Linked DNA regions of Homo sapiens: region 1 is linked to region 2. The links are contacts of gene promoters, found by promoter capture Hi-C in human tissues and cell types (Jung and others, 2019). All regions are on one chromosome and are shown on one strand. Each heading gives the region's core, a stretch centred on a gene start or on the middle of the fragment in contact. The rest is flanking DNA. Distances are from core to core; before and after follow the strand shown. Region 1 overlaps SLC45A4 (solute carrier family 45 member 4). Region 2 holds the start of GPR20 (G protein-coupled receptor 20).

Region 1 (4,822 bases), core at 1-2,500, 140 kb after region 2:
TCCTGCCTTGTGTACCCCAGTCGTGGGTCTCCTGCTCTGGCCAGATTCTGGATTCCTCCAGAGGGGACAGGCCAGCACCTGGGGTGGCGCCAGGCCCACCGAGAGGTTCAGCAGCGACAGCTGTCGTTGGGTGTAGATGCTTGGTGCCAAGGCGTGCCGCCCCTTCCAGGGAAAGCACGTGGGGCAGGGCACCTTGCGCACCAGCATTGAGAGCACCCCAGCAGGAGGCCCGTGTGCTGCTCGCCGCACTGAGCATCGTGGGTGGGAGGCACGGGCGGTGGTGCCACGGTGGGCTCTGTGTCTCCACTGATCCCCTTTGAATGTGCCAAGTGCCAGTCCCGACGTGTAGACTTGGGGTTGTCCAAGCAGAGGGGAAAGATGGAGAAAGGAAGCCCCACAGTGTCTTGTTGAGGATTGGAACGCGGGCCCTGACACCGCAGGGTGTAAAGTTAAAATCACGATGTCAGGCCATGAGGAACGGTCCAAGGCTTCCAGGCACAGTCCATGGCAGCTGTGTGGTTTGAGGGGCTGACCTGGGTCCCAAGGCAGGCCGGCCAGATGTAGGGGTGAGTTAGTGGGAGTCAGAGAGAGGCGTGGGGAGGCCTGACCTAGGGCTGGGGGCTGGCAACACAGGAGAGACCAGGGCCGGGGCCGCACGGAGGCTGGGGCAGCTGTGGGGACTATAGGAGTCAGAGCTGAGGGCAAAGGGGAGGAGGCTGGCGGGTGGAGGTGCCCAGGGAGGCCTGGGGCCGGGTCCCACCAGGCTCTGGAGGGGCCTGTGGGACAAGGGTGGAGAAGCAGCCTCCACAGGAGGACTGGGAGCCGAGGGCCTGGCCCGGGCCTAGCGGTTCCCCCCAGTGCCCTGTGCCTTCTTGTCTCCCGGGGTGAGAAGCCTCCCTTCTGGGCTGGGGACGGCTGCCTGGTCCAGGGCTGCTCCGGACCCAGCGTCTTCCCGGCTCCCAGGGTTGGCAGCACAAAGGCGGGACAGGCCTGTGCACGCAGCGCCTCCTCTAGATTAGGTGGGCTGGGTCGCACCTGCAGGTCCTCCCCACCCTCCTGACACCCAGCCAGCGCTTGGGGCAGAAACCAAGTAGGAAGGTGATGGCTGGAAGAGGGAATGCCTGGGTTTCTCTCTTGGCACCGCTTTTAACCCGACTGTTGGCCTTCGTTGACGCAACACAGGGTGGCTGAAACTTGGATAGTTAACTCCACTCTGCCTTTCTTGAAGAACCCACAGGCAGAGTTCGGGTGGAGTTAGGAGATGGGGCGGGAATTTCAAACCCTCGTGTTAAATAAAACCATGAACACTCTCAGAGGAATATAGCAGTGTAGTCTATGACACATCATTCACAGTGTCTAGGATACAACTCAATGTTATTAGACATGTTTTTTTTAAAAAAGAAAAGGCGACCGTTGCTGGAGGACGGCAGCAGTGGAGGCTGACCCACGATGATGTCGCGTGTCGCACTGGTCAGATGGGTGTGCGTAACTACACCCAAGGACAGAAAACATGCTCAGAATGGAGAGCACAGAGTCCCAGCAGAGAAATGGAAGCTACAGAAATAGAGCCAAGTGGAAATTCTAGGTCTGAAAACTACAGTATCAAAATAGAAAATGAACCAGATGGGGTTAACAGCAGATTGGAGGGGACAGAAGAGTCAGTGGACTTCATGATATGTCAACAGAAATGATCATATAGAGATTAAAGCCTGAAAAAAGAAATGAAGAATGCTCCAGGAAACAGAGGGATGATCTCAAAGGTCTGATGTCTGTCATGGGAACCCCAGAAGAAAGGAAATAGAGAATGGGATGTAAAACCTTTGCAGGGGCAGGTGCAGTGGCTCACGCCTGTCATCACAGCACTTCGGGAGGCCGAGGTGGGCAGATTGCTTGAGCTCAGAAGTTTGAGACCAGCCTGGCCAGCATGGCAAAACCCTGTCTCTACAAAAAATACAAAAATTAGCCGCCGGGTGTGGTGGTGCACACCTGTACCCAGCTACTCGAGAGGCTGAGGCACAAGAATTGCTTGAATCCAGGAGGCCGGAGGTTGCAGTGAGCTGAGATTGTGCCACGGCATTCCAGCCTGGGTGACAGCAAGACCCTGTCTCCAAAAACAAAACAAAACCAAAAAACTCACAGCTTTGAAGTAAGACGTAACGGGATGAACGGGATGTTTTCTAAACTTGGTGAAACGTATAAATCTACAAATTCATAAAGCTCCAGAAAGCCCAACCAGGATGTGTGTCCAGAAATCCCTGTCTAGGCTTGTCATTGTCAAACTGCTGAAAAGCAGCAGTAAAGAGAATCTTTAAGGCAGCCAGAGAAAAAAGGATCCATGACATACAAGGGGACACTCATGGGAATCACCACAGCCGCCCTGTCAGAAACCATGGGGTTCAGGACACAGTGGATCACATCTTCGAAGATCTGGGCTGGGAGGAATTAACCCAGAATTCTGTGTGCAGCAGAAATATTCTTCAAGAGTGTAAGTGTAATAAGGAGAGTTCAGACAGAATCCAAGAGCATTTGTCGTCAGCAGAGCCCCTCCTATTAGAAATGCTAAAAAAAAAAAAAACTACAGAAAATCCTTCAGGATTAAGCGAAGGGATATCAGATGAAAAGTCAGAGTTTTCAGAAAGGAAAGAGGACTGCTGGAAATGGTAAAGTGGTTTGGTTCAGGTCAGCTAGTGTTCGAGCCCTCTGTGGGTCACAGGTCCCATCTGGTGCCAGACTGGGGTGAGTGGTGGAGAGAGAGGAGTGAGCAGCTACGGCCCTCTGGGGGCACGGTCTCTCGTGAGTGCATGTGGGTGGCCGAGGTGGCTTCAATGCTGTGTGGAAAACGCAGGACCTGGCGTGCGCAGGGTTGGCGGGGGCCTCCTGGGTGGATGGCCCCCAAGGAGTTTGAAAAGGGACAGCAGGAGGGGTTCCCAGGCAGGGAGGTGAGAACCAGCGCGCTGCTACAGGAGGCACCGAGAGCCCTTCTGGGTGCCCAATCCAGAGGAGCCAGGACCGCACACAGGCTCCGCAGCTCTGCGAGGGGCTGCCTGGCACGGGTTTGCCGACATACATTGGTACAGTCTGCATGTGGTGGGAGTAATGACCGCTTCCCATTCTTTCTGAGGTTTTGAGTGTTGCGCCCTCTGCGTAGTTTTGATAAAGAGACTTTTCTGAGAAATAGGCTTCCTGATGGATCATTATTAACAAGGGCAGGGACTCAGTTCCGGTGAAGCTGAGGAACCCGGGTCTGCCGTGTAAACTCTCACCCATCCAGCGGACACGCGTCACATACTTCTCGTTTCCTGAAACATCAGTCCTTTCTGCTGACTCCGAGTAGGAATAAAATGTACCCTTCCTGAAGTTGTGTGCAGTGCAAAGGTCAAAGCAAACACCTTAAATCCTCGGCCGAATGCATACATGTTTTAGTGAGCACATTAGCAATAATTTTGAAAGGTGCTTCCCTCCTCCTCTGAAAATGATTTCCTCCTCCCACACAAGTTTATTTTTCTTGCTAGCTCAACACAATATTCTCAATGGCTTTTGGCAGTGTACAATGTTAGCCAGATGAGCCGCTGGCGTGCCAAGCACCTTTATTTCGTAAGGAAGTGTTTTACTGACGTATAGTATGGGGAGAGGGCACAGATCTCAAGTCCCCTGTGGGATGAATTGGCACCGCGTGACTGGAGCGTGGGACTCCCATCCAGATCAAGAACAGACACCCGACCCCGCTTCAGCCACTGCCCCCTGCCCCCTGCCAAGGGCAACCGGCACCCAAGTTCTCACAGTGGAGGGTCCTTTCCGCGCCTTTGGACATCACACGACAGGCGTCAGAGGTGCGTGGTCATCTGTGTGGCTGCTTCGCTCAGCGCTGTGAGTGGGCTCGTGCTCACGGCTGCACAAGGCGGCCGCTCGTTCCCGTGCTGTGGTGCTTGTGACTGCCGACACTGTTTGCCCGCCTGGTTGGTGATGGACACGCGGGTTTCTGTGATAGGGAGGCAGCGTGTCAACTCAGGGACAGAGTTTGAAATCAGGTAGCCCTGGGCTGGAATCCTAGCTGTGTGACCTGGGGTGGATTACTTAACCTCTCTGAGCTTCAGTTTCTCTGTCTGCAATAGGCACCATATTTCCTACCTCCCTGGGTGGTCAGGAAGGAGAATGTGAGCATGACAGGTGCCATCTGCAACCCCTTGGCTCCAGCTGGAGACACTCATGGTGCATCCCCCTGCCCCCACTCAGTGGCCACACAGAACAGCCTTTTGCTGGCTGTGGGGACCCTCTGCAGGACCCTCCATGGTACATTTTCAGCCAGTGAGGTCTAGAAGTCGTGGGCCCTTCCTGCCTCTGTGAAGCTGCAGTCACCGTCCTGCTCTTGTAGACTGTCTGGTGTCAAGGGACAGTGGCCCTGTGCCTGCCACCCTCAAAGTGGCCTTCAGCAGCCCTGAGGCCCTGGACAGCACCAGCAGTGTGGAGGGGCTCAGCCCTGTGTCCAGCCCTGGGCGGGGCGCCCTCCATGTGCCTGCACAGTCAGTGTGTGCTGCCCCTTAGGCTCGGGCCAGTGCAGGTGGAGCCCACTGGCACTCCAAGGCCTGGCTGCTTTTCTCTGGCCATCTGATGCTTACAGCTGGGGCTGGGTTGATTTCAGGTCATCTGGCCTTGCAGAAAAAGGAAAGTCTACCCCGTGGAGACAACCTGAGCAGGGGATGTGCGCATGCGTGCGTGTACACAGAGGCACCTGCCTGTCGCGGGGCTCCCAGGAAAACTGTGGCAGAGCCCGGCCAGTGCCTGCGTGTGCGACGGCCCTCGTGTCCCTTGCAGGCCTTCCGGA
Region 2 (4,516 bases), core at 463-2,962:
AGGTGCAAGAGGCTGGTGGCCAGAGACTCCTGTGCCTCTCTGGGCCTCAGTTTCCCCAGCTAAAACAGACACAACGATGTTCTAAAGGAGATAATTGCAGCCTGTGGGCTCAGCCCTGCAGCCGCAGGGAGGCTGCTCCAGAGTGAAGAAACCATCCTCTCCCAGAACTTTCAATGGCTCCCTGTTGCAGCACTCTGGTACCCATAGAGGCTGCTGAGACTCAGTGTAGAAGTCCCCTGCCCACTCCCAGCTTTGCTCCCCAGGAAATATTCTGATGGCCTCCTGTCCCTCTGCCCATCTGGGCTGCCTGCCTCCTGTTATACCTCCCTCTGCCCCTTCCAGGAAGCCTTCCCAGACGGCATCCCTCCCCAGCAGGCTGGGTCAGGACCCTAGGGCCCACCTACTCTCTCCTGTTGGTCTGCATTACAACCAGCCTGAGCTCGGGAAGGCCCAGCCCCTCCCTTGGGGAGCCTTCCCTGAGTCTCCGGTGTGCAGTACAACCCACTCAGCAGGGCCTCGGCACTCAGGCGGCTGGAAGGTTAAAGTGTGAGTATCAGCAGAAGCACACGGGATGGGAACAAGAGGAGATGGTGCTCTCGGCAGAGGAGACACTAACTAAATGGCCCCAACCGCTCCCCGACAACCCCCGCTGCCACCCCAGGCTGGCCACAAGGCCTCCTGGCTCTGAAGCTGTCTGGGGAGAGTGGCCCTCCAGCAGCCCTCTGGGATCAAGCCTGTTGATGAGCTCACGCTTCCTCCAGCACTGAGGTCCGGGTCCCACACGCTCTCCCCACCTGCTGGCCTGGGTCACGTCCAGGTCTTTCCCACACACCTGACCCCACATGCCACATGCCACCGGTGCATGGGTGCAAACAGAGGCCCAGATGCCAGGTGTGCAGGCTGTCGGTCATGGGTACACACAGACACAGCCAAACCCAGGACACATGCAAAACAGAGAGCCATGCAGGAACCCAGGCTTGCGTGGGCTGAAGCTACCATGCACATGCCCCCTCCCGGGAAGGAAATTGGGCTTTCGTGTGCTCCCACCTCCTGTCCCGCACACAGCACGCACAAGTGCCAGCCACCATCTCCTGGATGGTGCAGCTGAGACTCAGCCCCTCCGTGCCTCAGTTTCCCCCTCCTGCCCCCCACACAGCACACACAAGTGCCAGCCACCGTCTCCTGGATGGTGCAGCTGAGACTCAGCCCCTCTGTGCCTCAGTTTTCCCCTCCTGCCCCGCACACAGCACGCACAAGTGCCAGCCACCATCTCCTGGATGGTGCAGCTGAGACTCAGCCCCTCCGTGCCTCAGTTTCCCCCTCCTGCCCCGCACACAGCACACACAAGTGCCAGCCACTGTCTCCTGGATGGTGCAGCTGAGGCTTAGCCCCTCCGTGCCTCAGTTTCCCACCTCCTGCCCTGCACACGGCACACACAAGTGCCAGCCACCACCTCCTGGATGGTGCAGCTGAGGCTCAGCTCCTCGGTGCCTCAGTTTCCCCCTCTGTCTCCAGTGGGTGTGGGGACTCTGGTGCCCCAGGCCCCTCTGTGCCTCGGTTTCTTCTTCTGTCTCCAGTGGGTGTGGGGACTCTGGTGCCCCAGGCACCGTCCCTCAGGCTCTGAGCCTTGACTCCTCCTGGGGGCGGGGAAGGAGCCTGCCCCGCCCCCACCCTGCCTTTGCCCAAAAGGAGCCCCAAGCGCTGGCCTGACGTCAGGCCGTAGGAAGGCGAGGTCCGGGCTGCATGCAGAGCTGAGAGCTGAGGACTCCCATCTCCAGCCTGCCCGGGTGAAGCGCGGTAAGTTCCCCTGTGGGCTGGCCCCAGCCTCCCTCTCCCCAGCTTCCCTAGATAGGAGGCTCCTGAGCTGCTCCCTGCAGGGGTTCTCACCCCCAGCCAAGCAGGAGTGGGAAGGGCAGGGCAGAGAAACTGCCTCCAGATCCGGGCTGGGGAGAGCTCAGAGCAGGTCCTGCTGGACAGGGAGCCATTTCTCAGATGAGAAAACAGAGACCTGAGGGAGAACATGGGCGTGAGTTGGGCTGGCTGCATAAGGGGGAGCTGCGCTGCTAGGTGCCCACCCAACTCTGGATTTCATTCATTCACTCATTCATCCCTCCGTTCAACACTCACCGAGCATCTGCTGGGTGCCCAGAGCTGGGTCTTGGTTTCCCCACCTGGCAAGGCAGCAGGGTGGCCCACAGGCCAAGCCAGGGACAGAGTTGGGGGACCCCAGAGGCACTTGGCAGGCTCTGGGGCCTCAGCCACCACCACCCCGCAGCTGGGGCAGGGCCATGGTGAGGGCTTTGTGGGCATGGGCTCCAAGCGCCATGCTCCCTCTTCAGAGTGCCCGTCCTGCCATCCCACAGCTCAGGCCCTCTGCAGTAGCCTTGGTGCTGTCTCTACCCCTTAGGGGTGGGGAAACTGAGTCCCAGGGAAGGCTTGCTTGCCAGCCCTCAGTGTGGACCTAGAAGCTGGCTCCAGCCCCGCGAAGCTCGCACTGGGACTGCGCTGTGAGAAGGCGGCAGGACAGGGTCCCGAGGGGGCAGCGGGCTGGGAACTGGCCAGCAGCCAGGGTGCTGGCGGGGCAGACGTGGAGCAGCTGGCGACCTCGCAGGACGGGGAATGCACCCCGCAGGAGGCTGGGCCTGTCCACTTGCCCTGTCTTCTTCCTTCAACAGCTGGTCATCCTGGGTCTTCCCTCCCCTCTCCCCCCAGGACTCATCCAGTCGCTGGGCTCCAGGGCGGTCTGCTGAGTGGCCGTGGCAAGTCGCTGCCCCTCTCTGAGCCACACGGTGTGGGCCCATCAGCAAAGGCGGGGTCTGCGGCTGGAGAGCCGGGCGTGGGGGCCATGCAGTTTGGACCATTTCTGAGCAGCTCCTGGAGCCCACGGGGTGGCTTCATTGTCTTCTTGTTAAGTGGTATTAGCATCTCCTCTTTATAGATGAGGAAACTGAGGCTCAAGGAGATCAGAGGGGTATTCTAAAATCATCCACTCCATCACTCAGCAGTGACTCAGTGACTCAGAGGGGCCAGCCAAGGCCAGGGCCCCTGAGGCACTCCAGTTCAGTGAGGGAAGCACAGCGAACAGGAAAGCAGGGACATAGGGAACTGCGCGTGGCAGGGCACTGCGAAGGAAGCCAGGCGGTGCAGGCGTGCGGGGCTGTGGGCTCTGGAGGGCCTCCCTGAGGAGGGGCGTCAGGGCCCAAAGAACCTTAAGTTGATCCCCTCACCATACGTCCCAAAGCCCTCCCCACGCCCCCGGTGTCTCACAGAGCCCTGAACACAGACTCTCCTTCCCACCTCTGGCCCTTCATGCTCACTGTGCCCTTCCTGCTGCCGGGAGCGCTCTTCCCTCTGATTGTCCTGAGGCCCATCCCGGCCGTGACCAGCCACCTCCCACCCTACCCTGAGCTGTCAGCTCGGAAAGGTGGGGCCAGGTCTGCCTGGGACCCATTTGTGCCCGCAGTGCTGGGGTCTAAGTCCTGGTCTGACACCTCCAAACTGCACGGGGCTGTGTGGCCTGGGGCCTCTGATTCCCTCCACACACAGGGCTGGGTGCCGCAGAAGGCTGATCCCAGGCACTGGGACAAAGTGCCAGCAGGCAGATTGAGGCAGAGCTCAGCCCCTCCTGCACCCCAGCTGGGTGAGCCCGGACACATGACTTAGCCCCTCTGTATTGGTTCCCCACAGGCACAGTGGGGCCAGAAACACCCACCCAGGGGCATCTTGAGGGAAGTCAATAAGACCCTGGGAAGGATGAGCCCAGCGGGTGCCCTTCAGATTGTGGGATCATAGCTCTCCCCCTGGGGCAGGGGCATCCAGGGCACTAGGGCATCAGAGGGGCTCAGGGAGAGCTCTGTGGAACAATGACTGTGGGTGCCCGGAGCCTTCACCAGGTGGCACAGGGAGAGAAACAGCATTCCGGGCAGAAGGAACAGCACATGCAGAGGGAAGAGGCTGAGAGGACCAGGCTGAGGAGCTTCAGGCGGAAGGACCAGGCTGAGGCCAGGCAGGTGCACATGACAGAATGCCTGTCCCAGCAGCTCCTGGAGAGGCTGAGGTTGGGGAGGGGTTTCAGGAGCTGCTGCAGCTACGGCTATCCCAGCTAGAGGTGAGCAATGAACTCGGTGATGGGGAGGAAAGGAGGGGCTGGTGGGTGACACGCAGGACCTCCAACTGGCCATGCCCCTCCCAGAGACACCCAGCTAGAGGTGAGCAATGAACCCAATGATGGGGAGGCAGGGAGGGGCTGGCAGGTGACATGCAGGACCTCCAACTGGCTATGCCCCTCCCAGAGACACTGGTGTTTCCGTTAGAGCCGCAGTCTCAGCAAGAGGGCTCTTAGCTGGTGGAACTGAGGCAGAGTCGGGTCAGATGGGGCCCAGGTGTCCTTCCCCACAGAGCTCAGTCTGTGCCCACCAGTGACGTCTCTCTCTGCACTGGGGTGGAGGGAGCCCTGGCCTGTGGGCGTGGGGGACAGGGAGAAAGACTTGGCTTCTGGCCAGGGTCACCTGGGACT

What was found. Contacts are between HindIII fragments. The study calls those that stand out against the background at their distance.
Region 1: a fragment that was not itself captured here is called in contact with the fragment with the promoter of GPR20 in region 2 in 2 of the 25 tissues and cell types used here (H1 embryonic stem cells and mesendoderm cells).

What each region holds. Positions count from the first base shown.
Region 1 is chr8:141,221,756-141,226,577 of GRCh38, reverse strand. It overlaps SLC45A4 (solute carrier family 45 member 4), which reads left to right. Exons shown (of 9, transcript NM_001286646.2): 3 at 4,813-4,822. Among named protein-coding and RNA genes, the nearest start is that of SLC45A4-AS1, 30 kb to the left of the region's middle. RefSeq lists enhancers at 3,372-4,110, 4,111-4,822. The HindIII fragment of the contact is 4,890 bases long and covers 1-3,695 here.
Region 2 is chr8:141,364,482-141,368,997 of GRCh38, reverse strand. GPR20 (G protein-coupled receptor 20) reads left to right here and starts at 1,712. Exons shown (of 2, transcript NM_005293.3): 1 at 1,712-1,797. RefSeq lists a silencer at 1-35 and an enhancer at 400-949. The HindIII fragment of the contact is 55,577 bases long and covers 1-4,516 here.